Linked DNA regions of Homo sapiens: regions 1 and 2 are each linked to region 3. The links are contacts of gene promoters, found by promoter capture Hi-C in blood cells and fetal thymus (Javierre and others, 2016). All regions are on one chromosome and are shown on one strand. The core of a region is centred on a gene start or on the middle of the fragment in contact, and the rest is flanking DNA. Distances in the headings are between cores, read along the strand shown.

Region 1 (2,700 bases), core at 61-2,560, 280 kb before region 3:
TTTACATGGCCAACACTTCTGCTCCCAGTTTCTATGCATGTTGGCTCCCATCTGTCCCATTCGAAAGAGAATTGACCTCAGTGCAAGGGCATTGCCTCAGCCAGGAAGTCGCAATGCCCCGAACTCAGCACACAGCCAACGACTGAAAGGAGGGTACAAAGAGTGGGCCTCTTGCTTCCAGATGCAATTAGTGCACCGGAAAAATTCTTTCTCATGGCTAGACCTCCCTGGAAGCACACCCTTGCCCGGCTGCTTCACTCACACTATCCTGCATCATTCCCTCCCTTTACAGGTTTTCCTGAAGAGCATTCCCTCAATATGCACCTGAATTCTTCTCTCAGGTTCTGTTTCTAGGAAATCCAACCTAAGACAGAAGGAAAGACAACAATAAGCCAGCAAACGTGTAAAGGTATATACCATGTTAGATGGAGATTATGGCTTTGGAGAATAATAAAGCAGGAGAAAAGGGAAGGAGTATTTTGGGGAGATAGAGTTCTCATTGAAAAAAAGTGGCCAGAGAAAGTTTTCCCAATAAGGTAGTATCAGTAGGATCTAAGGAAAGTGAAGGTGCAAGCAGTGTGGAAGTCAGGGGGATGGACATCCCAGCCAGAGGAACCTCAAATGCTAAAGAGCGAGAGGGAGGCTGCTGCAGCTGGAATAAGTAGCCAGGTGGATGGAGGTGGGCGGGGTGTGGTCATAAGTAGACGGTTGGATGATGGTATTGAAAAGGAGGGTCTTGGCCGGGCGCAGTGACTCACACCTGTAATCCCAGCACTTTGGGAGGCCAAGGTGGGCAGATCACAAGGCCAGGAGTTCCAGACCAGCCTGACCAACATGGTGAAACTCTGTCTGTACTAAAAATACAAAAAAAAAAAAAAAAAAAAAAATTAGTAGGGCGTGGTGGTGCGCGCCTGTAATCCCAGCTACTCAGGAGGCTGAGGCAGGAGAATCATTTGAATCTGGGAGGCAGAGGTTGCAATGACCCGAGATTGCGCCATTACACTCCAGCCTGGGTGACAGAGCGAGACTCTGTCTCAAAAGGAAAAAAAAAAAGGAAAAAAAAGGGTCTCCTTCTTCCTGCTGCAAAGTGATTGAAGTACCAGAACATTAAAACAAGAGCAAGAACTGGATATGAAAAAAGTCATCTCATAAAGACTGAGTATCTTGTAGAGACAGTGTAGATGAGAAAGTGTATATGTGAACTTTATGATTTTTTAAGGGTATAAAACTTCTTAGTAGAAATTGACAGATAGAGGAGGATAGTAGTACAGTTCTCTATTTCCTTTCCATATTTTTTCATGAAGGCTTTCCCCTGCATCTTTTATGCACATCCCTCTTTCCATGTGTCTTCTGTCCATCCTAATTTACATGTGACTTCCTTGTATCAATTTTGAATTATTATTCTGTGAGTTCATACATTAATTTGGTCACTTTGGTAATATTAATGTAAACTATTGCACAGCCATATTTATTGGAAGGAACTGAATTATACATTTTTCTTCCCTTTCCTCCCCTCCCCTCCCCTTTCCTCCTTTTCCTCGCCTCCTCCTTTTTTTCTTCTCTTTCCTCTTCTATTCTTCTCTTTTACTCTTCTCTTGCATGTGGGAGGTAGCTGCTTTCATAAACCAATATACATTCGTGCTGCACTAGCCTGGTGATTGCCGGTCCCTCTCTGCTGGGTGCCTGATGCCAGGCTGGAGAGTAGCTACCACCCAACTGACAGACTGAAAAGCAAACTAGAACCTACAGAGTGATGCCCCAAAATATATATTAGCTACAGTCTGGGGTTGCTTTGCTTATCATTGCTCTATGATATAGACAGAATTCTTTTCTACCTCTCTTTGGATAATAGCACTCACGTGAAGAGACAGGTGCCCTCCTGTAGATTACACAGCATATATGTCACACTTCTAATAATAACAATGGTCAAAAGGGTGATTTTTCTTCATGCTTGGCACTGTGCTGAACAATTTAGATGTATTATCTCATTGAATCTTTACAATCTGTGAGGTGGGTATTATAATTCCCATTTTATAGATGAGAAAACTGAGGCACTGAGGTAAAATTACTTCCCCAGGGTCACTCATCTATTAAATGGCACATTTGGGAATGCATCTAAGATTGAATGAGACCAGAACTGAAGCTCTTGAACTCCACTACACCACTTCCCTAGTTACAGTAATTCACATTGTTTTTTTTGCTTCCATTTCCATCTACCCACCTCCCACCATTGCTCTATGAATTTCCTGAGAATAGAGACTGTATTTATTCACCTGTGTCTGCCAAGCACATGGTTAGGAGTCCGATAAAGTAAACAATTGTTTTCCCCACCTGAATTCTAAACCAAATGAGGGACAAGATGAAAGAGTAAGACAGATATTGATTAAAATATCAGCTTTATTACCAAGGATGACTGTGCTGCAGGAGGCGGCTCAGTGTGAAGAACTACGGGTTTCCTGATGTTGAAGCTCAGAATTAGCCACACTGACCTTCTCAGTCATGCATGATGCCAGGAAAATCACAGGCTTCCATTCTACAGTGAAGGGCTTGGAGGAGCAGGCAATAATCTGTGGAAAGAGGAAGGGGCTGAGACACACCTGGCTGACCAGCCTCTTATCTCAGTATTATTAGGTGGGAGTGCCTGGAGGGTGAAACTAGTGGAGGTCTTTTCACGTGGAAATAGGAAGCTCAGGCCAAGGA
Region 2 (2,700 bases), core at 188-2,687, 260 kb before region 3:
TGCTTGCCAACTCCAAATGTCTTACATTTCTTCTTCTATTTCATCCTAAGAATTACCCAGTCATTTTCATCAGGCTTCCATTCCAGGACTCCTCCTGTAGCCCAATGTTGCAAACAGGTGCAGTCAGCAAGGGTGCCAAGTGACAGGAGCCAATCCTGGAAATCAGAGTTAGAGAATCTCTCTCTCTCGCTCTCTCTCTCTCACACACACACACACACACATATGTACACACACACATGATACCCAAGCTAACCACAGTTATCAGAATCACTGAGTTGTGAAAATAGTTCATTTTGCAATCACTATGTTAATTAGTTAATCATTGCAAAGATTAGCGATGGTGACAACCTTTGGTTTGTGCTCCTTTAAACTAGTTAACTATGGAATGGAAAATCAAAATCACAGCTGAAAATGTCAGAGAGAGTTGCCTGTTTTCTTCACAAACACAGAGCCATAGACACTTCAACAACAAATGATTCCAGTGGGGCAATAGAGAAATGAAAGGCAGGATCACACGAGATTGGCTTCTGAGGTACCCACCTCTCCCATGGGGGCCTTAACTCTGATTTCTTATTCAGTGGGCCTGGGGATTTGGTTCAATCTCTTAGTTACACGGATGAGGTTATACAGATGAGAAGAGATCCATGCAGCACACACATCCTGGGAGCCTACAGAGCCAGTGCTTCTGAAACAGTGAGGAAATCAGGGGTTGCTCAGCAGACAGTTTGGGAGGAAGCAGGAAGCCAGGAACACTGAGTCTTATTCATTTTCTTTAATGCAAGGTAGTAGAGCACATAACAGGGCAGGAGTTCTCCAAGTGTGGACCCCAGACAGGACCAGCAGCATCAGCATCACCCTCAAATGTGTTAGAAGAGCAAATTCTTGGATCCTACTCTGGATCTATTGAATCACAAATTCTGGAGTTGGAATGCAGAAATCTATGTTTAAACAAACTCTTCAGATGTTTTTGATGCATTCCAATGTTTGAGAACCCTGCAACAGGAGATAGTCAGTAATCATTTGTATTGCCTTTTGAGAAAGCTCAACTTGCTTCTAGATATGGGTGGACCTAGATCTGGAAACTCACTGAAGACCTCACTGCCAATAGACTGTGAAGGTCATAGTGAGAATTTGAGAATTCCTATCTCTTTCCTATCCAGAGTAACTGATCAGTTCTCACAGTTTCCAGGAATGGACATCCCGCTGAGTTCCCTCCATTAGGACCTGCTGTGGGACAAAGTTGCCTACATCATTATCATCATCACCATCACCACCAGCATCATCATCATCACTGCCAACATTTACACAGTGGTTGCTATTTGCCAAGCACAATTATTAGAACTTTATAAATATTTATCCACTTAATCTTCACACACACACACACACATCATGAGGTTGTACTATATTTGTATTCTCCCCATTATACAGATGAGGGGACTGAAACAAAGAAAGATTAAGTGATCCTTCAATAATTTCACCACCCCTAAGGGTCAGAACAGGGTTTTGAACCCAAGTAAACTGCCTCCTGAACTCTATTCATGAACTCTGCACAAGAAAGGCAACCTAGATAGTGGTTGAGACCTCCTGATTTGGAGCCAGGATATCTGGATTTTAGTCTGGCGGCAGCACTTACTATTATCGGTCATCTATTAATTGTCTGGCCTCTAGTCTCACCCTTTCCTAAAAATCCATCTTCCAAATGCTAAAATAATTATCTCTCATATGCAAATATGTTCTTGCCATTATCCTTCTTAAAATTTTTCCATTACTCATGTTCCCTGTAAGATAAAATCTAAACATACTTTGCCATTAAAAAGGAGTAACTGCCCACTCATCCTGCTTCATCTTCTACCATTCTTTCCCACATGCTAAGCCTCAGCCATCCCAAACACCTCACTATTCCTTGAATAAGCCAGCCCATAATTCCTAGAAGGAAATTTCCTATCATCCAAAGTTTCTCTCACTTGGAAAATTCCTAGTTACTTTTAGTTTTGGCTAACCACTGCTTTCTCTGGGGAAGCCTTCCCTGGGTGCCCCCTATACAGGCATACAGCATTCTTTTCTTTCTGCTTTCATTAGTCATATCTCCTTCATCACAGTGGCCCTGATATTGCATTGGAATTACCTGCCTATCTCTCCTGCACCTATGAGTCTTCGAGAGCAGAAACTGTCATTTCATCTTCATCATAGCCCCAGTGCATATCGTAAGTGCAAATAAATATTGGTTAAATGAATGAATGAAGTTAATAAGACCAGTGCACCCTCTCACTGCAGGGAAGGCAAAAGACAAGGTTAAAGGATAACTAGAGAGACAAATGAAGTAGTAATGAAGTGATACTAGTTGGTGTGAGATAATGCTCCAGGAATCCAATGTAGAAACAATGAAGCAGTCTTAAGCACATGGTTGAACTTGATATGCTTCATTTCCTCACATGACATCACTCAGATAGCTTCAATTGGGCATCCAATCTTAGGAATCATTTAGCGGAAAATATCTTTACCTATCCAAAGATTTTTTTTTAGTAACTGGCACAAAATTTTGAAAGTCCCAATAGGATTTTCCTATCATGGCTGTGGAAAGGGGTTCTCCTGATGGATGTTTAGCTCAAAGCTGCAGTGATGAGAGGGCTCACCCCAAAAATGACCATTCACAAAGGCCACATGGAGGAATAAGTGGCAGCAATGGCTGTCATGAAAGAA
Region 3 (2,700 bases), core at 89-2,588:
GGATGAGAGGAGATTGGACACCAAAGCAAGAATGGCTATTATTTAAGACTGGCCTGAACAGAGTAGAAGGTTTGCGGTAGGGAAGACTGGCCTGAACAGAGTAGAAGGTTTGGGGTAGGGAACACAGGAGTGTGATGGGGGAAATCGGGACCTCGCTTGTCAATCATAAACACTGGTGCAGGCGAGGGCACCCGAAGCCTCACGTGCGGCGGAAATAGGCAGTTGTACGGATTTCCTCAGTAAAACATTGAAAGCAAAAACTGCGATCACACCCAGCCCTTTCCTCTATGCCCTGCCCAATTTCTCCCAAGTCCCCAAAAGGAAGAGAGCAGTAGGTCAAACTTGTTTATTCATTCATTCCATGAACATTTCTCTCTCCTAAGGGGTCTTTGTTTCCTGCAAGGGAGTGAGTCTTGCCTTTCCCGCAGCACCAATTTTTCCACAGCGAAGGGTCCCCCTAGTTGCCTGGCTCAGCAAGACCACACACATCACCATTGAAGGGAAAGGACCAGGCTCCGCAGAAAGCGCCTCAGACCCGCATTCAGACAAGGCAGTGCCTTTGCCCGGGGCGGCGGTGGTGGGATAAGAGAAGCAACGTGTCAGCGAGTGGAAAACTGGGGACTCCCAAACGGCCTTAGGAGCGCCGGGCTCCCCACTGGGGCCTCTTTCTAAGGGGCCTGGCTTGCTGGCCAAAAGGTAGCCTTTCCGCTAGTCCAGTTTCCATGGCCGTACAAAAAGCACATCCCGAAAAGGAGCTGCTCGCCGACCTCCGGCTAGTTTTGAAGAGTGAAAGCAGGTCTAGGTGGAAAAGAAAGAACAACAAACCATCAGGACAACCTTGCTGCCTTGGCCCAAGTTTGTGAGACAAAACTTCACTGTAAATCACAAAAATAACAATCAAGAAAGTGTTTGGTGGGAGGGTGGTGTCCCCCAAAAGCCTTGATGTGTCCCCCGAAAGCAAGGACTGCTGGTGACTCGGACAGGAGAAAATTTTAAGGAGATGGCTCCTCAAAGACAACCGCATGTGTTGAGCACCAACCCTGGCTGAAAAGGATAGGCAGGGGAAGCATCTGGGGGTCTTTCCAGACTATCTAGAAAGCTGGAGAGAGTGGGCTTGGGCTTTGCGGGAGAGTCTTGGGGGCGCCTGCGGGCGGGGCTGGGCCGCGGGCGCGGGCCGCAGAGGGAGGGGCAGGGAGGCGGGGCCTAGGTCTGGGCGGGTCGGAGGCGGGGCCCAGGTGGTGTTGATACACAAAGAGAAGGCGCCCGGGCGGCCGCGGTCCCGCCCACTGACGCGTCCCCGGGGTGCCGCTATAACCCGCCGCTCGCAGGGCTGCTCCACAGCCGCGCGACGCCGCCGCCTTAGAACGCCTTTCCAGTACTGCTAGCAGCAGCCCGACCACGCGTTACCGCACGCTCGCGCCTTTCCCTTGACACGGCGGACGCCGGAGGATTGGGGCGGCAATTTGTCTTTTCCTTTTTTATTAAAATTATTTTTCCTGCCTGTTGTTGGATTTGGGGAAATTTTTTGTTTGTTTTTTATGATTTGTATTTGACTGAGAGAAACCCACTGAAGACGTCTGCGTGAGAATAGAGACCACCGAGGTAACGCGTGCGGGGGGGCGTCTGTGGGAAGGGCGCGGGGCCCGGGCGAGAGTGGGGGAGGGGCTTCCGGGAGGGGCCGCGCGGGAAGGCGGCCGCGGGGTCCGTTTCCTTTCGAGGCGGGCGTTGTCGGTTGGGCTGGCCAGCCTTCCACCCTGGCCCGCCGCGCGGGTGTCGCGCCCGCGACGTGGGTAGGAGAGCGGGCGCTGGGCGGGGGCCGCGTGCCTGCACGGTGCGGAGCCGCATCTTCCCATTAGGGGGAGGGGAGCTAGCCCGGCCAGCGGCTCTGCTGCGGCAAGTCTTGTGACTGATTTGCATTTAATAAAAAAAAAAAATTAAGTCCAGGGAGCCAGGAATCTGGGGGCGGCGGAGGTGGGCTTGGGCATGTATTACAGGAGAGGCCAAGATTGGGGAAGACGAGTTGGGAACATTTGACAATCGACGATCGATATTGCATCAGTTTTCTTTCCGGACATAGGAGGGGCTGGGCGGGCGTAGCACTCGCGGGCCAGCTGCCTGTGGACGGGTGTGCTTGAGGGCACTGGCGCGCGTGTGTAAACAAACCCCCAGCTCCCGGGGCCCGGGCGTTCGCCCCCCTCGAGAGAGGAGTAGTGTCGGCCCTTTCCGCCTCCTGGGGAAGGCTGTCTGCGGCAGAGGCATTTCTCCGTGTGGGGACTCCGGGCAGTAAAGGACAGATTACGCAGCATTGCTGTTCCAAATGCTAGAAACGGAAAGCCGTGCGCCTAGGTTGCATGCACACGAGCCAGGGTCGGGGCTGGATGTGTGCCCTGAGTGCCTGTGCAAGTTTGGAGCGACTGGGAAAAAGCAAAACAGAACCCCCCCTCGCCCCCTCCACTCCGACGAGGGACAATAGAGAGGGTGAAATACTGAAATCTGCCGGAGTAGGGGGCCTCGACGGCCGCAACACAGCGGTGGCATCATCTTTGTTCTCCCCGCGGCTCCGCCGTCTGTACTTTTCCGCCCCTCGGCGCGCCCCCGCCCCTCGCGCGCGGCTGGTACTTTTCCACTCGCCTGGCCTGGGATGAATCAGCCGCGCTGCGCCTCCGGGCGGCGTCACGTGACCGCGGCGGGCTGGCGCTG

What was found. Contacts are between HindIII fragments. The CHiCAGO score rates a contact against its expected background, and 5 or more counts as called.
Region 1: a fragment that was not itself captured here is called in contact with the fragment with the promoter of SLC38A2 in region 3 in 15 of 17 cell types (megakaryocytes, M0 macrophages, M2 macrophages and 12 more); the score reaches 14.5 in megakaryocytes.
Region 2: a fragment that was not itself captured here is called in contact with the fragment with the promoter of SLC38A2 in region 3 in 1 of 17 cell types (naive CD8 T cells); the score reaches 5.0 in naive CD8 T cells.

What each region holds. Positions count from the first base shown.
Region 1 is chr12:46,652,257-46,654,956 of GRCh38, reverse strand. SLC38A4-AS1 (SLC38A4 antisense RNA 1) reads right to left here. Exons shown (of 4, transcript NR_125380.1): 4 at 2,378-2,567. Among named protein-coding and RNA genes, the nearest start is that of SLC38A4, 170 kb to the left of the region's middle. The HindIII fragment of the contact is 7,316 bases long and covers 1-2,700 here.
Region 2 is chr12:46,627,515-46,630,214 of GRCh38, reverse strand. The region is part of intron 3 of SLC38A4-AS1 (SLC38A4 antisense RNA 1); the gene reads right to left. Among named protein-coding and RNA genes, the nearest start is that of SLC38A4, 200 kb to the left of the region's middle. The HindIII fragment of the contact is 3,527 bases long and covers 1-2,700 here.
Region 3 is chr12:46,371,411-46,374,110 of GRCh38, reverse strand. It overlaps SLC38A2 (solute carrier family 38 member 2), which reads left to right and starts at 1,338. Exons shown (of 16, transcript NM_018976.5): 1 at 1,338-1,602. SLC38A2-AS1 (SLC38A2 antisense RNA 1) reads right to left here and starts at 1,328. Exons shown (of 2, transcript NR_187299.1): 1 at 1,249-1,328; 2 at 333-798. RefSeq lists enhancers at 779-838, 1,519-1,598, 1,456-2,159, 1,849-2,178, 2,259-2,408 and silencers at 1,089-1,428, 1,629-1,828. The HindIII fragment of the contact is 15,961 bases long and covers 1-2,700 here.